7 separate regions of the Homo sapiens genome follow, and regions 2, 3, 4, 5, 6 and 7 are each linked to region 1. Evidence: promoter capture Hi-C in 16 types of primary human blood cells and fetal thymus (Javierre and others, 2016). All regions are on one chromosome and are shown on one strand. Each heading gives the region's core, a stretch centred on a gene start or on the middle of the fragment in contact. The rest is flanking DNA. Distances are from core to core; before and after follow the strand shown.

Region 1 (2,639 bases), core at 93-2,592:
GCCCGGCGGCCGAAAGGCCCGAGAGGAAAGCGACTCGTTGGCCACCGCGCAGCGGCCGGGGTCGGTGCGTCCGCGTGGGCGCGAGGCGCGGGCAGGGTCGGGCGCCGTTGTGAAACCTCGTGGTTTAGTTGACTGCAGCCCTCGGACTAGGGTGGACAATAAACGCCATTCGCTCGGAAACTAAGTTGCCATCCGCTTCCGAGCTGGCGGCCGAGGGTCTTTAAATCGGCCTTTGGGGGTCAGTGCTGGGCTCTGCCGGAGCGCACGCGGCGTGGCGTTGTTTGCTCAACTCCGGAGGGATGCGGATGCGACAATGAGAGCAACACGCGGTCGCTTAAAAACAGCCCGTCTTCCACTCGCCTGCCCTCTTCGGACCGCGCCCAAGAGCCTCTGGTGTCCGGGGTGCTTTCGGAGCCCGAAGTTTTGCTCCCGGTGCGTTCACCTGTAGCGTAGGTGTGGGCGACACCGCGAGGGCTTCCCGTTTATGGGCGGCCGTCCGCGCTGTAAGATGGCCAGGGAAGCCAACTTGGCTGGAGATGGAGGCGGCGGCGTTGTGTACGCCGCGGGAGTCAGTGAACTCCGCAGGGCACTGCTTTTTGTGCTCTACGTGACAGACCACGTGCTTCGGGCTGCGACCCTGGTCCTTGTCCGAATGTCCAGCCCCGCGTGAGCCGTGGGATGCGGCCGCCGTCGGGCAGGTCCGGCCGGCAGGACAATGTGGTTTGCTGATGATGGCGTCTTGCCAGTTTAAAAAGCAGAGTGAAAGTCGCCAACTCTCCGCCCGTGCGGGGCGGATACTCCGGGCGTTTCTCATCAAGGACACTGCAAAACTTTGATTAAATGGGCCTGCTCCCGAGGGGAGGGTCGGGGGGCCAGGCTCCGGACTCTTCGGGGCGCGGGGTCCGGACCCCTACCCAGGGTGATCGTCCAGTGTCCGGCCCCTGCGAAACGCTCCGACATCCCTGATGCTGCACGTAGGCAGCGCCCGGCTGGACAGAAAACAAAGGGCTGCATGTGCCCGTGCGGGCCCCCGGCGCTCGGGGCCGCCGCCTGGGCGTAGGGCCGTGCAGGTCGGAGGCCCTCGAAGTTCGGGCGAGTTTCGGGAGGGGCTTTTGTCCCTCAGCCCCCTCGTGGGGAAACTTTGGCGGCGCTACTTGTGCGAGGTGCCATGCTGGTGCGTAGGGAGGCGGCGTGCTTCCCCGCTCCGGGCGTGCGGGCGGGCGACCGAGGGAGGCGGCAGTGCCCGGCGCTTCAGCCCTGGCGTCGGGGGTTGCGACGGCCGAGGGTTCCGGGGAGCTTGGCCCGGACTGCTCGGCCGGTTTCTCGTGGCCCGGGAGCCTGTGTCTGGGAGGTCTGTGGGTTCGCCTTTGAAGTCGAACTGTTGCCATGTTTGAATTACGTCAGGGCAAAGCCATGAGGAGGAACAAGCCCCGGCAGCGCGGCGTGCGGGAGGCGCGGCCTGCGGGAGGCGCCGGGCCGGGCTGGCGCGGGGCCCGTTGTTCCGGCGCAGGTGAGGGAGGTGGCGGCGAGCGACGCGGTTCACCTCCCGCTGCCCTCGCCCTCGCCCCGGCGAGCGGCCCCCGCAGGAACTTTCCTCCCGACGCGAGATGTCTTATTTACCAACAAATCCACCAGGGAGCATTCTTACTTGCTGGCTCGGCGTCTCTCTCGGCAGTCACCGGAGTGCCCGAGGGGGAAGCACGATTTACGGAAGGTGGGGACCCGAGGGCCCTGGGAGGAGCGGGGAGGCATTTTACTGCTTTCAGAGAAACGGGTGAGGGCGGCGAGCACCTCCTCCCCAGCCGAGCTGTGGCCCGCAAGTCCAGGGGACCCAGCCCCGACGACGCCCGATAAACCACCGTGGGGAAGTTCCGGGGCTCCCTGTTGCCCTACTAAGGGAAGTGAGGACTGTGGGCGAATTGTGCGTGCGGCCAGTTTCTTTGTGTGTTTCTAGGGGGTGGGGGGAGCGGGGAAGGGCAAGGTTTGTTTTGGTGTAGGGGGAGTTGGTTTCTTGAGGTGGTAGGGCGGTGCAGTTTGTTCTGGTAACTATGACCCTAGTCAGTTTCTTTGTTTTTATTTTCTTCCTGTAACCTTCCATTACTTCAGGCACTCGGAAGATTAGGATTTACTCTTGAGTTAAACAGGGACCCTATCCGAGACAGTTTTACCCCAGCAATTCTTTCTCCCCCTTCTTAAGTTGTCCTAAGGAGGGTTAAGAAAAGCTTTTCTTTTTCTTTTAATAATTTAAAAATGAATTTGACCTTGTTATTCAGAGTACGCTGAAAGCACCTGTTTTTGAACTGGAATTTGCCAGACTTGAAAAGCCTTTTAAAATTTTATGTCGCAAAATTGAACACATTTAGTTGCCCAATCTAAAAGTCTGGGAGTTTGTTTCTGGTGGAGTTTCGGAGAAAACCCTCATGGCATTTAAAGTATTTATATAATGATTTTGGGAAGGGGGATCTTTTTTAGGCGAAAGGTATGCGTGACTCAGTGTTTGGTGGTTATTCAGTGCCTTAGGATGACCTTGAAGAAGCAAATGTTTAGGGAGTTGGGCCTTTTGGAAACATTGTAAGGAGGCTGGGGAGCTGGCTGGGGAGGAAGCTGCTCAGGAAGATGACACAGGGTAACGGCTAGCT
Region 2 (2,639 bases), core at 50-2,549, 1.9 Mb after region 1:
TATTGTGAATGAATGCTATAGGATAAATGCCATCAGAGCATGAATTCCAAAGGATGATAATGGAGTGGGGGAGAAGCATATTGAATGATCTGGGTGCTGAAGTCATTAAGCAAATTATGAATATATTCAGATGTTAGTGGAATATAGCAACAAGTACGGAAGTGAGAATCAGTGTGTACTGTGGTTTGGAGCATAGTTTCAAGTTCTACCACCTGCTATGTAGCCTGGGAAAATTATTTGACAGTTCTGTGCCTCATTTCCTCATCAAAAAGTAGGATTAAAAATAGTACCTGCTGCTTCATAGAGTCATTTACAAGATTAAATGAATTAATGTTTAAAGAGCTTCAAATAATACATAGCACAAAACATGAGAGATGGTTGAGAAATATGGTAAAACATGATACTTCTGTAACCTGTGAGTCTCAGAAATGACTAAGGATTGGAATGGAACTGCTGCCAATAGAAAGTCAGGTTTTATAAAGAGAGCAGACAGCAATTTCTTTTAGAAAAGCTAGAAGTTATTGGATACCTTGTTTATGCCAGACAGTGACTTTTACAGTAGGTTGGCAAGTATGCAAAATGGAATGAATTTCTTGGAGGTAGGTTAGTGCTGAGCTTTCAGGAATGGGACTGGTGGAGTAGCTGAGGGGCGAGGTGCTCCATTCTAGAGTGATATCCCCTGGAAAACAGGGATGGAGGAAGCTAGAGATGGGTAGGGAGCCACATGATATATTCCAGCTAGACTTTCAAGGGAGGAGTGTTGAATAGGTTGTATGTATTATTAGGAGATTTGTAAAACTAACTGCTTGCCGTATCTTTATGCTTATATATAAATTAAAAGAGCATTTAGAAAGCTCATTATACAAATATAACATTTATATAAACTTTTAGAAATGTAATTCACTGTTTTATTCATTTGTTTAACAGTGCTATACTGACTATGTGATGGCCACTGTTCTAGGTCCTGGGACAGTAGACAACAGGAAAATCCTTCTTGTGGATCTTATTTTTATATATTTACTTACCTAAGTATGACATACTGCTGTGATTTGAAAGATGTGCTACTGTGGTGTTTCTGGGAAAATTTCCTTCCTTCCTTTTCTCAATAAATATTGAATACCTGTTCGCTAGGCATTGGAGATACAAAGATCAAGTTAGACATGGTTCCTGCTCTAACAATCCGGTGGAGGAAACAGAAAAAGAGGCAATTAGAAATAGTGTGATAAAGGTACAACGTTCTAGAAGCAGATAGACTTTGAAGGCCATGGAAAGTTTTTTTGTTCCCCCTGCTTGCTCAAGGTAGAGATGAGTAGACTGGACCTTGAAGAGTAAGTAGGAGTTAGTCAAATGTAGAGATGCGGTAGGGGGAAGAAAAAATATTTCTGGCAAAGAGAATAGGATATTTAAGGAATTGAAAGTGATTTAATATGGTTGGAACGTAGACTGTGAGTGATTGGGTTTGAAGAGAGGTTAGCAGGACCTGGTTTTTGAAGGGCTTTGTAAAACATGTTAGGATAGAATCCAAGCTCTTAAGTGTAGTGGGAAGGGAAGTTTTACAAAGATTTGAAGAGAAATATCAGATTTATGTATTAAAAAGATAATTTATTATTACAGTATAGAGAGAGAATTGGAAGGTTGAAGATTAGAGGTTGTTGAAGCAATGTAGTGATAGATTGTGGCAGTTGGGACTAGGAACATACTTGGACATAAGGAATTTCTCAGTAGGCCTGAAGAAGAGAAGACAGGCAGATTTAAGAGAAATTTAGAAATAGCTTAAGTCTAAAGATATAACCCATGTTTCTGGCTTGTGTAGTTGGGCTTATGGTGTTATCATTAAGATAGATACAGGAGGAACAATTTTTACAGGGTGAAGTATTCATTTTTGGACTTGTTGAGTCTGAATTGTGTTTGGAATGTCCAAATGAAAAGGTAACAGAAGGCAAGGGGTTATACATATCTGCAGAGAGATCTGGGCAGAGAATCAAGATTTGGGATAAATCAACATGCAGATTGAAATGGAAGGAGTGGGCGATCATTTGGGGAAGGTGTGGAGGTTAAGGGGGAGACCTAGTGCAGAATCTTGAGAGAAAGATGAATTTGCACAGTAAGCCAAAGAGGGTTTTCCAGGTAGAATGAAAATTGGGGATGTGATATCACTTAAGTCAAGGTAAGAGAATGTTTCGAGAAGAAAAAGAAGTGATAAGCAGTGTGTTTTCTCAGAGGTGCAGTTAGATAAGGACTGAGGAGTGTCTGTCAGTACTAAGGAAGTTAATTACCTTGCTCAGAGCAAATTTAGTTAAGAGGTGAGAGTTGGGTGAGGAAGTAGTCACAGTAGATGAATGGGGACAACTCATTCTTTTAAGTTGGCTGTAGGTGTGCTGCGAGAGATGTATTGTTGGAGTTGGACTTGAGTTTAAGGGAGAGTTCTGTTTTAAAGAGAAGAGACATACAGATATTTAATATTTTACTCAAATCAGAAAGAGTAGAAATTGAAAGATTGAAAAAGGGTCAGTTTTTGTGCAGTTACTACTAAAAAGGTACAGAAAATAAATTTGATTATCAGAGCTAAACAAGTTTAGCGGGCATGGCATATACATAACAAACATTCAGAAGCTTAATTTATCGATGGGAATACCAGT
Region 3 (2,639 bases), core at 42-2,541, 1.9 Mb after region 1:
CCACCTACTGTGTGCCAGACAGAGACACCTAGAAAGAGAAAGCTTTCATCTGTAGAATCTCATTATAATAGAGAAAAACAATACATGAAGATAACTACTATTCAACATGCTATAGAAGCCAGCAGCCTAGGCAGGAACAACTACTGTTTTCTGCAGGAATAAGTGAATGTAATATTTGAGCTGAGTTTTAAGGTTTAAATAATAGTTGACTTGGTTTAGTTTAGTATTTATGTTTTATACACCATCTCTTATGTAACAAGCTATTTCCCTATCAACAACTCCACATAGTGTGAGTTTCTCCTGTCACATGGATCATTGGAAAATTTTTTTGTTCATTCTTAAGTCATAAATTACATTACTTCATTTCCTCTAACCCTTCACCTTTTCTTTCTGATATGTGTTTCAATGATGTAGTGCCAACATTTCACACTTTCCTTGTCAATTTAACAAACAGTCAACAACTTAAGTCTAGTAAGTATCTTATTCTCGCTGAAGATTAACAATGTTGGCCCATCTCTTGATTGCATCTTTGTCTCAACTTTATTATTCATAATATTAGCACTTGTGTTTTTCTATTTCCCACTGGTATGTATGAGAGTAAATTTTAACCAAATTATTAAATAATGGCAACAAAAACAACTGCTAGGTCCAAAGTTACTAAGAAACTCTGACAGAGGCAGAAGAAAATAGAAGGATTATAATAAAAGAAAGTAAAACTACAGTGATTAAGAAAGGGTGGGGCTGGGCATGGTGGCTCACACCTGTAATCTCAGCGCTTTGGGAGACCGAGGCAGGTGGATCACGAGGTCAGGAGATCGAGACCATCCTGGCTAGGACGGTGAAACCCCGTCTCTACTAAAAATACAAAAATTTAGCCGGGAGTGGTTGTGGGCCCCTGTAGTCCCAGCTACTTGGGAGGCTGAGGTGGGAGAATGGCGCGAACCCGGGAGGTGGAGCTTGCAGTGAGCGGAGATCGTGCCACTGCACTCCAGCCTGGCTGACAGAGCAAGACTCTGTCTCAAAAAAAAAAAAAAAAAAAAGAAAAAAAAGAAAGGGTGGTATTGCTGCAGAGAAAAATAAACAGACCAATAAAACAATACCGAAGGAGTCAGCAATGCCATTTTAATTGTTTAACTTGGCAAACAAAATGCATAGGGTGACAATATCAACAGATAATGAGAATATGGAGTAAGAGGAACTCTTCTCACTGCTGGTGGGAAAGTATAATTAGGTACTCCAGCTTTGGAAAACTCAGACAATATCAGTAAAGTTGAAAATAACAGTGTCTTCTCAGTCAACAAGTTCATCTCTAGGTATATACCCTACAGCATTGTCTTCAGCCATGGATAAAATCAAATGTATGTATCTGGGGCATGAAGAATAATTTAACAAACTCCTTATGTGATTCTAATATGCAGCCAGGTTTGAGACCTGTGTCCCACAGGAAAGTGATGTAACCGTGGACCATTGGATATGTACAGGCATGTTTACAGAAACACCAACAAAAAGTTGGAATTACAAATGTCTATTACAGGAGATGGTATAAACAAAATAGTATAATGCTTGCATGGCAGTAAAATACAACAGTCCACAGGCTCTTTAGTGAATCTTAGAAACAATGTTGAGTTTAAAAACCAACAACGTTGAGTTTAAAAACCAAGTTTAGAAAATTAGGCACCACATGAAGCTCAGAAACAGGTAAAATTAAATCGTTTGTTTAGGTTTAAAAAGGCAAGGCAATGCTATCACACCAGAGCTGTGGGGAGGTAGTGGAATAAGCTGGAAGAGTCACACAGGAGCCATTGCAATGCTATCCACTTCTAGTTACGCTGGATGGTGGTCTCACAGATATTTATTATCTTGTTCCATAATTTACATATATTTGCAAATATAAAATACTACACGATATGAAATACTTAAAGCCCCTTTTAACAACACTAGCTCCTCAGGTTGGAAACTGTTCTCCTCCTGTCTAGGTATTTAGAAGTTCCTCAGTAAGCCCTTACATTCTTTTCAGTTCCCTATGCCTAGAAAGCCCACAGTGTCACTGTGACTTGTGGTTACTGATGTCATTTGTAACAATGAGCCTAGTTGTTAACATTAGCAGTTACACTTTCTACCATCTACTTTCTTGTATGAGAAAACAGTTTTAAATGTGTTTGTATGTCTTCCAGGAGTGAGATATTACTTGACCTTTCCATTTAGCTCATTTATTCATTAAAACTAATCTCATTCAAATATTTTGAATATGCCGTTAATAACCTTGGGACACAGGGATTATGAGTATTGGGTTCTGAAGTCAGAGTCCTTGGGTTCAGATCCCAGTTCCACCATTAAGTAGTGTTATAACTTTGGGAAAATTAGCCTCATTGTACTTCTGTTTCTTCATCTATAAAGTGGAGGTAATACATCTACTCATAGGGATATTCTGAAGATAAAGGAGTTTCTACATTTAAATCACATAAATGATAGTTGGCACCTAGTAAACTTCCAATAAATTGTATCTATTATCTTATGTATTTTCCTAAAATGAAGCTTTTAAAGAGGTTCTTCTTCCCGTTTGAGTCCTTTAAAATGTTTCTGAACAAAAAAAAAAAAAAATAGTTAAGGCTGGACGCGGTGGCTCATGCTTATAATCC
Region 4 (2,639 bases), core at 66-2,565, 1.4 Mb before region 1:
GGCTGGACATTGCAAGACCCTGTTTCAAAAATACCCATTTTTAAAATTAACTTGTTTTCCAGAGTAGAAATGTTAGATAGAATGTCTGTAAAATTTATTCCCAAAACAGGACATTTTCGAGAATAAAAGGGGTCATATAAATAATTAGGCTGAGACAAGAGGCATATAAACCAGGGCTACATTCACCTATTTACTGGAAGCTTTCTCAAATATATAGTGTGACATCATGTTACAAGTCCATTGGAAAGGTGTCTCAGTTGGTGCTATGTGCTAGATATTTGGTCACCATCTGACACCATTGTGTCCCTGATTGCCACTCCCCTGAACCTCCTTAAACTGTGCTTGGAGAAGAGTTACGTGAGACATACAATGGGAAGGGGCATGGGTGTCTAAGATTTCCTTTGGTTTTAGAAAAAAATAGCTATGAGAATACAGAGGAGTTGTTTTCATTTGCTATCTCTGTTAGTGACACCCTTCCAGGTCGGTCTCCCACCCACGGGCAGCTTTGAATGAGATCAATGGCAATTGAAACTGTTTGGATCTGAGCAAAGCTGCTTGGATTTTCACTGGATCTTTCTGCAAATATGATATATGTTTCATTGGTCAACTATCACTTTCTAAATCTTCAATCTTAATTTTTCAAAACTTGTCATAATACAGTTTCCCTCTAATAACAGCCATGTAAGCATGACTTAAACTGGCTTCTACTGCTTAAGCAAACCTCAGTAGAGGAGAAAATAGATGTATTTATTTATTTATTTTGTAATAGAGTCTTGTTCCGTCACCAGGCTGGAGTGCAGTGGCATGATGTCGGCTCACTGCAACCTCCGCCTCCTGGGTTCAAGCAATTCTCCTGCCTCAGCCTCCCAAGTAGCTGGGACTACAGGTGTGTGCCACCATGCCCAGCTAATTTTTTGTATTTTTTGGTAGAGATGGGGTTTCACCATGTTGGTCAGGCGGTCTCGAACTCCCAACCTCAAGTGATCTGCCTGCCTCAGCCTCCCAAAGTGCTGGGATTACAGGCGTGAGCCACTGCGCCCAGGCTTTTTTTTGTTTGTTTGTTTTTTTCTTTGAGAGGGAGTCTCACTTTGTCACCCAGGCTGGAGTGCAGAGGCATGATCTCTGCTCACTGCAACGTCCACCTCCCAGGTTCAAGGGATTCTCCTGCCTCAGCCTCTCAAGTAGCTGAGATTATGGGCGCCCATCACCATGCCCGGCTAATTATTTTTTGTATTTTAGTAGAGATAGGGTTTCACCATGTTGGCCAGGCTGGTCTCAAACTCCTGACCTCAAGTGATCCGCCATCTTGGCCTCCCAAAGTGCTGGGATTGCAGGCATGGGCCACTGTGCCTGGCCGATGAATACATTTTTAACCTCCTCCCTGGTGTGGTGGCTTAAATAATGAAGTTAAAGCTGAGAAACAATAAATGGGACTTTTGACTACTGTGATAGCAAACAGGCATTTCAGAATTGTAGAGGTGAATGAGATTTTAGAATTCATCTAATCCAGCCCATTTACTTTTTTTTTTCTTTTCTTTTCTTTTTTTTCTGAAATGGAGTCTTGCTCTGTCGCTCAGGCTGGAGTGCAGTGGCGAGATCTCAGCTTGCTGCAATCTCTGCCTCCCAGGTTCAAGTGATTCTCCTGCCTCAGCCTCCCAAGTAGCTGGGACTACAGGTGCCGGCCACCATGCCTGGCTAATTTTTTGTATTGTTAGTAGAGACAGGGTTTCACCGTGTTAGCCAGGATGGTCTCGATCTCCTGACCACGTCGTGATTTGCCTGCCTCGGCCTCCCAAAATGCTGGGATTACAGGCATGAGCCACCGCGCCAAGCCCAGCCCATTTACTTCTAAAATGAGGACACCAAGGCTAGTGTGTTAAATGACTTATCTAAGGAGGAACAGGTAGTCAAGGTTAAGCTGAGATAGCTACTCATGTCTGTGACTCCTAGTCCCATGGTCTTTGGACCACGACTCAGAAGCACATTTTGTTATGGTTGTGAGGATGAAGGAAGTAATATTTGACTTTTCTGCAAACATTATGTAAATACAAGGTATTTGTTCCCCTTATGATGTTACAGAACATTAATGAGTGAGATGTTTCCAGACTTATTTCTCATTTTGGTAACTAACCAGTCAGTGCTTATAACAGAAAAACATAAAGTCCGTATTGAAGACACTGAGAAAAAAAGACAAAAATAGTTTTAATCAAAATAGAATTGCTCTACAAAACATAGAATGATTGCTTATTGTTTTGTTTCTTCTCCAATGGAGATATAAATTCACTTGGCCTTGATGGAGGGACAATGATGAGTTGATTGATTCACTTCTACTCTGTCAGAGAGACCAGAAAATTACTAAGGTAACTTGATAAATAGGAAAATTCCAAAATGATCTTCACTGAAGACATTATCCATTTGATCTAAGCTTTTCAGATGCAATCACAATAGTGTCTCCAAGATCCTCTTTCTAAGAGGGAAGCCTGCTTTTCTCATCACATTAGCAAACAGCCAGGCGGATTCGTTGCTTGCCAGTCATGGCTGAATTACAGTCCCGACAACATGGCCTGGGAAAGAACATGCTGGTAGGGGACTGCGGCGGCTATCACCAAGCTCAGAGCAGAAGGGGTGGATGTTGGGGA
Region 5 (2,639 bases), core at 94-2,593, 1.4 Mb before region 1:
AAGGTAACAAAACAGTGAGAAAGCCTATTATTGTTACTAATTAAAACAACGTTTAATGCCATCTTCCACAGGTTAGATAAAAGGAACATTAAGAACATAACACAGACAAGAGATAGATACCACTACACAAACAGGTTCTTTAATGGTGGTATAGACAGTGTTTCAGTGAGAACCAAAGGTACCAACATTTCCATTCTGAAGCAAGAGACTCACATTTTTAGTTTCTCTTCTGCTGTCCTGAATTAACTGTTAAAAGATATGTTAAAACATGCAATTTAACAAGCAAAATTTAAATACCAATGGGTTGAAATTCAAAAAGTGCAGGATAATTTCCTCTTTAAATTACTTTTTCTGTGTGCATCTTCTATATTGCAAGCAAAAGCATGTCAACAATATAAACTATGCATTGCATTGTTATATAATTTTAAAATATATATTAGACTAAAGTGATCTGACCTTAGCACAGTATCCCATATTAATATTCTTCTATTCAGTGTATTGTTTCCAGAAGATTATGTTGTACCAGAGAACAAGGCATGCAGGCTTAGATTAAGAATCAGAACAGACCTTGCCATCAGCCTCAGCAGAAGCAGCGGGGGAGGGCTCCTGGGAGGCAGGTGCCAAAGCACTTGGAACTTTAGAAGACTAAAGGCAAAAAATCCAGGGGGGAAAAAAAATCAAGGATGCAAAAATGCATTCAGGAACATTCTATAAATGAATTTTTCCCTTCTGTAATGAAATCGTAAAATAACATGAAAGATGAAAATAATCATGGGAGATTGTTTATTCTGCCTTATTTCCTTCACCATTGTCACCTTTGTTAAAAGTTTCCTTCAGATGAATACATAAGAAAAATCCAAATCCAAAAGCTTCATTTTTATTTTTGGTATTTAATAAGATTCTTTTCTGGCAAAGAATTCAAGGTAAAAGATTTTTATACACACTTTAGTATTACAACTATTTTAATTATTACTAGTAATTAAAACCTCTGTTCTGTGCATACTGTTTTTTCCAAGAAACCCTCTTATTATAATAAAATCTTGAGTCATTTCAGCTATGTGCAAAGTTGATAAAGTCACTGACTGAATTTTTTTAAAAAGCTTGATGCTTAAATGCTTAAATAAATGCTTAAATCTACTTTTAAGCATTTATGTCAGTGAATTCAAAATACTATTATCTTTAAATCACTCAAAACCCATTTTAAACTTGTATGCCTTTACTCAGTTAGTTCCAATGGAGTGTTAAAGGGAGGAAAAGAAGAAAAAATTACTCCTAGGACTGAGTAATATTCTGAGCTCATCAATCTATCTTTAGGTATTGGGAATATGCATTAAAAACATTTTTTTACCTTGTCTCGTGATACAGCTGAAGGTAATTCTCTGGCTAGCCTGTTTCTCCTTTGTTCCTAAGAAACACAAGCAAAACAAAAGTGATTATCCAAGTATTGAGATATATGCCTACTAAAAAATGTTCATGTTAATTGAAAAGTGTGGAGTAACTTACAGATACATCCTCTCACTGTTGGGACTCATGCCATAATTATCATATTTTAAAATAAATAAGAAATCATTTAACCCAAAGCTTCTTAATCTTTTTTTTTTCTGCCCACACACCTGAAGGATACAATACACTGTCAGTAACAGTGGCTCCCTGTACTGGGGATTCTCAAATGAGGGGCAACAGACTGCCATCTTCTCCCCCTTTCCCACTAAGAAACAGTGATGTAAACTGTCCTCACATAAATGTGGAACGTGGTAAGCCTTCAACATAACCATGTGGAATTTGAAGTCCAGAGATCACAGAAAACTCCGCAAAGCCTTTAAAAGTCACTCTAACCTGAACACCTTTGTGTTAAACTCAAACAACTCCCCTCATAAAACCGTATCTTGAAGAAGTATCTGTGGTTGAGGTTATCCTATAAAAATGTTCCATTTCTTCCTCCAGGAAATAGTGTTGACAACTGCTAGTCCTTTCTGTAACCTGGCTAATTTAACACACTGATCAATTGCCTACTGTTCTAATTTGCTAATATTATCAAAGTAACTTGTACAAAGCTAAAGAAACTGACAAATTCAAATTAGAATGTCCCGAGCATCTGCTATATCCAAGCACCAAGATAGGTAAAAGATTATGAAAATATTGGCCGGGCACAGTGCCTCATGCTTGTAATCCCAGCACTTTGGGAGGCCAAGGTGGGCAGATCACTTGAGGGCAGTTCAAGACCAGCCTGGCCAAAATGGTGAAACCCTGTCTCTACTAAAAATATAAAAATTAGCCAGGCATGGTGCCGCACACCTGTAATCCCAGCTACTCAGGAGGCTGCGGCAGGAGAACTGCTTGAACCCAGGAGGCAGAGGTTGCAGTGAGCAGAGCTCATGCCACTGCACTCCAGCCTGGGCGACAGAGTGAGACTCTGTCTTAAAAAAAAAAAAAAAAAAAAAAGATTATGAAGATATAGAAATCTGTAGATGTTAATTAATGATGGATCTCTCACAGGCAGCATCAGATAAAGTAGAAACTATTTAGGTTAAAGTCACAATTGCTCCTAAGTAGGAAGTATTTCATGAACACAGTCCAACTTGCAAAAAAATATAAGTTAAAGCCTCACAATGATTTTGTTTTTGTTTTTTGTTGAAATG
Region 6 (2,639 bases), core at 76-2,575, 1.4 Mb before region 1:
GCGTTTGTAGAGAAACATAGTCAACTAATTTTCTTGTACACATTTTCTATGTGTTTTTGGTTTTCCTATCCTATTTGTTCTGTTTTAGGGGAAAGTCATATAGATATTTAGGAAACTATTCTACCACTGCTGTCATCTTCCCAGGATCCCTAATATGGATATTTAATCCACTAGAGGTATCAAGACTAATGTTTAGTCTTATAAAAGTTATTTTATACTTCAGTCATAAAAAGGAATAAGGTACCGATGCACGCTCCAACATGGATGAATCTAAAAACATTATTCTGCTAAGTTAAAGTTAGTCAGTCACAAAAGACCACATATTATTTGACCCTGTTTATATGAAATGTCCAAAATATGGCCGGGCGCGGTGGCTCACGCCTGTAATCCCAGCACTTTGGGAGGCCAAGGCAGGCGGATCACAAGGTCAGGAGTTCGAGACCAACCTGGCCAACATGGTGAAACCCCATCTCAACTAAAAATACAAAAATTACACGGGCAAGGTGGCACGCACCTGTAGTCCCAGCTACTCAGGATAGGCTGAGGCAGCAGAACTGCTTGAACCCAGGAGGCGGAGGTTGTAGTGAGCCAAGACTGTGCCACTGCACTCCAGCCTGGGCAACAGGGCGAGACTCCATCTCAAAAAAAGAGAAATGTCCAAAATAGGCAAATCTATAGCTAGAAAGTAGATTATGTGGCTGTTTAGGGACAGAGTGAAGAAGAATGGGGAGTGACTACTAATGGATACCAGGTTTCTTTCTAGAATGATGGTATATTCTAAAATTAGTTTAAAGGTGATGGAAAGGCCAGGCGAGGTGGCACATGCCTGTAACCCCAGCAATGTGGGAGGCCAAGGTAGGCAGATCACTTGAGGCCAAGGAGTTCAAGACCATCCTGGGCAACATGGTGAAACCTCATCTTTACAAAAAATAAAAAAATTAGCCAGGCAAGGTTGCACATGCCTGTAGTACCAGCTGCTCGGGAGGCTTAGACAGATGGATCACTTGAGCCCAGGGGATTGAGGCTGCAGTGAGCCATGGTCATGCCACTGCACTCCAGCCTGGGCAAGAGAGTGAGACCCTGTCTTAAAAAGAAAAGAAAAAAGAAAAGTTTAAGGTGATGGTTGTGCGACTCTATAAATATGCTAAAAAAAACACTGAATTACACATTGTAAATGGGTATGTTATGGTATAGAGTGTATCTCAGTAAAGCTGTTAAAAAACAAAATAAAGGAGAATGACTTCTTAAACAATATACAAAATGTACAAAACCACAGAAGAAAAGATAATTCAACCACAATAAAATTAAAACTTCTTTTCCTCACAGAAAAAATTCAGGGAAAACATTTGTGATCCATAAGTAACTGGTAACCAAAATGTATAAATAACTCCCACAAATCAAATTCTTAAAAATACCTAACAAAATAATGTGCAGAGATATCAACAAAAACTCACAAAACAAAACCTCAAAGAGCCAAGAAACATGATAAGATGCTCACACTCACTAGTAATCAGGAGGATGCAATAGAAACCACAATGAGGTACCATAAATTTAAAATGTGACTATAGAAAGTACAGATATAAATAAACTTCACTCTGTTGATGGGAATGTAAATTACAGCCATCCTGAGAAGCAATAGCAATATCCAATAAATATACCCTACAGTCTGGCAATTCCACTCCTTGATTCGTTAGAGAAATTCTCAAACATGAGACATTTATATGAATATCCGCAGTACCACTGTTTACAAAAACAGCTATAGCAAACACTGGGGAACACACAAATTTCAACAGGATATATTCCTATAATGGACCATTATATAGCAGTATAAGTGAACAAACTGGGATTATATGTGTGTATATAAATAAATTTCACATGACTGTGTAAAAACATATATACAGATTACAGCTACTTTGTGACTGATAGTGAGTGGAACTTCCACCTGATATATCCCTATTATACTATGAAAATGTACAAATACCTGAAATGTAAAAATGAGCCTAATGTTAAGATGGATAGGAAGGACACTGTGACTAGTTCTGTGTGGAGTTTGGTAGCACTGTGATTCATTTGATGCTTCTAGAAACCACAAAAAACTATACATTGGAGAAATTATGGACTCTGTGTTCTTATGATGACTAGTTAGTTCTGAAGCACCTGGACATTATCTGAAGACTTCATTCTTGGAATAGAAGATGACATTTCATCCCTGACTCCAGTGGAGTTCAAGTGTGAATAAAATGATATGAACTGCTTTTGTCATTTCAGAATTAGACTGAGTCACTTCTTGGAAAATATAGCTCCTAAACCCCAGTTTAGGTGCTGTTAAAATAAGTATCATCTACCTCACGGGTACTCATGGTGACTGACTCTTGGAGACTCTAGAATGCACCAAAACAAACAAACAAACAAACAAATTCCAGACATTCAAACTAAAACTTTTAACATGTTGTCGCTATTCCTGAGATCCCAGCAGGACTTCCTGGAGCCTGTGCTTAACTTGATCTCTCTGCTTAGATTTTAATTAATTTTGCTTAAATGTAAATCTTATTCTATAGAATGGAATGAGCAAAATTTTAAATAATTAAAATATATATCACCACCCAAAAAGAAAAAAAGAGAAAATGGTTATAGTATGA
Region 7 (2,639 bases), core at 70-2,569, 1.4 Mb before region 1:
TAGAAGTTACTAAATTTAATCTCCATGAGGACAAGAACCACCAGCAGTAGTGGAAGTTGTGCACTACGCAACTCCAGTGGGTGCCATTCACCTGCTTAGCTGTACACAATGGCTGCGGGGAACATGCTTGATTTGTTCAGCAGGACAAATGGCAGGTGCTTAATAAATATCTGTGAACAAATGGATGAAGTAAGCCAAGACCTAAAGATCCATTAGTGGTGTTTTGGCATCTTGACAGGTTTTGTGAACATCTCCTCTTTGATTATTTTCAAAAAAAAAATTTTTCAGAGATAAAATAAGACAAAAATTTCAGAACTCCAAAAAACAGTTTTATTCCAAGTCTCTTGACTTTCTACCAAAGATAATATTACATAATAGTCAGATATTACCCACTTTGCTTCTCACCCCTCTGTTGATGGAGCTTTTGTTTTCTTCTAAAGAAAACAGAAGGCCGGGCACGGTGGCTCATGCCTGTAATCCCAGTACTTCAGGAGGCCAAGGTGGGCATATCACCTGATGTCGGGAGTTCAAGACCAGCCTGACCAACATGGAGAAACCCCATCTCTACTAAAAATACAAAAATTAGCTGGGCGTGATGGTGCACGCCTGTAATCCCAGCTACTCGGGAGGCTGAGGCAGGAGAATTGCTTGAACCCGGGAGGCAGAGGTTGCGGTGAGCCGAGATTGCACCATTGCATTCCAGCCTTGGCAACAGGAGCAAAACTCCGTCTCAAAAAAAAAAAAAAAAAAAAAGAGCCAGGCCCGGTGGCTCACGCCTGTAATCCCAGCACTTTGGAAGGCCGAGGTGGGCGGGTCACCTGAGGTCAGGAGTTCAAGACCAGCCTGACAAACATGGTGAAACCCCATCTCTACTAAGAATACAAAAAAAAAATTAGCCTGGTGTGGCGCGTGCCTGTAATCCCAGCTACTCGGGAGGCTGAGGCAGGAGAATCGCTTGAACCCGGGAGGCAGAGGTTGCAGTGAGCCGAGATCGCGCCACTGCACTCCAGCCTGGGCGGCAAGAGCAAAACTCCAACTAAAAAAAAAAAAAAAGAAGAAAAAAAACCAATTTCGGCTTTCATGTTTTAAGTTCAGAACACTCTTGTTTGTGGGAAATCAATTTAACTAATAAGTGGCTAAATGGATTTCCCACAAAAAAGAGTCTTTGTGCATCTAAGAATAATGTGTTCTTCAGTGGCTTCCTGTGGGAATCACATTAAACCATTATCGGATATCAAAAGGCCTTTAAAAAAACCTCTTCTCGGCCAGGTGCGGTGCCTCACACCTGTAATCCCAGCACTTTGGGAGGCCGAAGTGGGTGGATCACGAGGTCAGGAGATGGAGACCATCCTGGCTAACACGGTGAAACCCCGTCTCTACTAAAAATACAAAAAATTAGCCAGGCGTGCTGGCACGCGCCTGTAGTCCTAGCTACTGGGGAGGCTGAGGCAGGAGAATTGTTTGAACCTGGGAGGCAGAGGTTGCAGCAAGCCAAGATCGCGCCACTGCACTACAGCCTGGGCAACAGAGTGAGACTCTATCTCAAAAAAAAAAAACAACAACAACAAAAAACACCTCTTCTCCTGCAACCATCCCTCTCTCACCATAGCTTTATGATTTAGGCAGGATAGCTAATTGTAAGGACAGAAATTTAATTCTGAGCTAACTTGCCTCAAAAATGACTGAATGTCTGGGCGCAGTGGCTCTAGCCTGTAATCCAAGCACTTTGGGAGGCCGAGATGGGTGGATCAGTTGGGGTCAGGAGTTCAAGACCAGCCTGGCCAACATGGTGAAACCTCGTCTCTACTAAAAACACAAAAATTAGCTGGGGGTGGTGGTGAGAGCCTGTAATCCCAGCCACTCGGGAGGCTGAGGCAGGAGAATTGCTTGAACCCGGGAGGCGGAAGTTTCAGTGAGCCAAAATCACGTCACCGCATTCCAGCCTGGGTGACACAGTGACACTCCACCTCAAAAAAAAAAATGACTGGAACTAGGAGCTCAGGCAGAATCAGAGCTCTACATCTTATCACTACATCGTCTATTTCATTCTCTCACGCAGTTTACTCCTGTGGAATGAGGTGAGTGTGCTGTGGGGGAGGGTGTAGGGGATCTCATTCAGCAAGCTGTCTCACAGCAGATGAGGCAGAGAGAACTGGGGAGGAACTGAAACCTAGGAACCTGGTTTCTGCCTTGCTTCTCTAGTATATTAGTTCCCTATTGCTGCCTTAACAAATTACCACAATTTTAGTGGCTTAAAACAACAAAAATGTGGCCAGGCGCAATGGCTCACTTCTGTAATCCCAGCACTTTGGGAGGCCGAGGCGGGCGGATCACGAGTTCAGGAGATTGAGACCATCCTGGCTAACATGGTGAAGCCCTGTCTCTAGTAAAAATACAAAAAATTAACCGGGCGTGGTGGCGGGTACCTGTAGTCCCAGCTACCCGGGAGGCCGAGGCAGGAGAATGGCGTGAACCTGGGAGGCAGAGCTTGCAGTGAGCCAAGATCACGCCACTGCACTCCAGCCTGGGCAACACAGTGAGACTCCATGTCAAAAAAAAAAAAAAAGTATTGTTTTACAGTTCTATAGTTCAGTAGTCTCACACAGGTCTCACTGGACTAAAATCAAGGTGTCACCAGG

What was found. The method cuts DNA at HindIII sites, captures the fragments that hold promoters and counts their contacts. A CHiCAGO score of 5 or more calls a contact.
Region 2: a contact is called between a fragment that was not itself captured here and the fragment with the promoter of FLJ13224 in region 1, in 3 of 17 cell types (activated CD4 T cells, naive CD4 T cells and fetal thymus). The highest score is 11.1, in activated CD4 T cells.
Region 3: a fragment that was not itself captured here is called in contact with the fragment with the promoter of FLJ13224 in region 1 in 1 of 17 cell types (total CD4 T cells); the score reaches 5.5 in total CD4 T cells.
Region 4: a contact is called between a fragment that was not itself captured here and the fragment with the promoter of FLJ13224 in region 1, in 3 of 17 cell types (naive CD4 T cells, total B cells and non-activated CD4 T cells). The highest score is 7.6, in naive CD4 T cells.
Region 5: a contact is called between a fragment that was not itself captured here and the fragment with the promoter of FLJ13224 in region 1, in 4 of 17 cell types (naive CD4 T cells, total CD8 T cells, total CD4 T cells and 1 more). The highest score is 6.6, in naive CD4 T cells.
Region 6: a fragment that was not itself captured here is called in contact with the fragment with the promoter of FLJ13224 in region 1 in 8 of 17 cell types (activated CD4 T cells, total CD8 T cells, naive CD4 T cells and 5 more); the score reaches 7.3 in activated CD4 T cells.
Region 7: a contact is called between a fragment that was not itself captured here and the fragment with the promoter of FLJ13224 in region 1, in 8 of 17 cell types (naive CD8 T cells, activated CD4 T cells, fetal thymus and 5 more). The highest score is 10.6, in naive CD8 T cells.

The regions. Positions count from the first base shown.
Region 1 is chr12:31,323,019-31,325,657 of GRCh38, reverse strand. It overlaps FLJ13224 (a long non-coding RNA gene), which reads right to left and starts at 1,342. Exons shown (of 1, transcript NR_026806.1): 1 at 1-1,342. All of the region lies in intron 1 of SINHCAF (SIN3-HDAC complex associated factor), which reads left to right. RefSeq lists an enhancer at 1-419. The HindIII fragment of the contact is 3,270 bases long and covers 1-2,224 here.
Region 2 is chr12:29,373,835-29,376,473 of GRCh38, reverse strand. All of the region lies in intron 1 of ERGIC2 (ERGIC and golgi 2), which reads left to right. Among named protein-coding and RNA genes, the nearest start is that of ERGIC2, 6.0 kb to the left of the region's middle. The HindIII fragment of the contact is 2,633 bases long and covers 1-2,615 here.
Region 3 is chr12:29,398,096-29,400,734 of GRCh38, reverse strand. The region is part of intron 1 of OVCH1-AS1 (OVCH1 antisense RNA 1); the gene reads right to left. Among named protein-coding and RNA genes, the nearest start is that of OVCH1-AS1, 10 kb to the right of the region's middle. The HindIII fragment of the contact is 2,493 bases long and covers 45-2,537 here.
Region 4 is chr12:32,762,160-32,764,798 of GRCh38, reverse strand. No RefSeq gene overlaps it. Among named protein-coding and RNA genes, the nearest start is that of YARS2, 7.6 kb to the right of the region's middle. The HindIII fragment of the contact is 2,225 bases long and covers 203-2,427 here.
Region 5 is chr12:32,735,871-32,738,509 of GRCh38, reverse strand. It overlaps DNM1L (dynamin 1 like), which reads right to left. Exons shown (of 20, transcript NM_012062.5): 14 at 1,349-1,405; 15 at 568-645; 16 at 214-246. Among named protein-coding and RNA genes, the nearest start is that of YARS2, 19 kb to the left of the region's middle. The HindIII fragment of the contact is 481 bases long and covers 1,103-1,583 here.
Region 6 is chr12:32,692,104-32,694,742 of GRCh38, reverse strand. The region is part of intron 1 of DNM1L (dynamin 1 like); the gene reads right to left. Among named protein-coding and RNA genes, the nearest start is that of DNM1L, 14 kb to the right of the region's middle. The HindIII fragment of the contact is 2,885 bases long and covers 1-2,639 here.
Region 7 is chr12:32,674,462-32,677,100 of GRCh38, reverse strand. No RefSeq gene overlaps it. Among named protein-coding and RNA genes, the nearest start is that of DNM1L, 3.5 kb to the left of the region's middle. RefSeq lists an enhancer at 1,708-2,639. The HindIII fragment of the contact is 2,972 bases long and covers 1-2,639 here.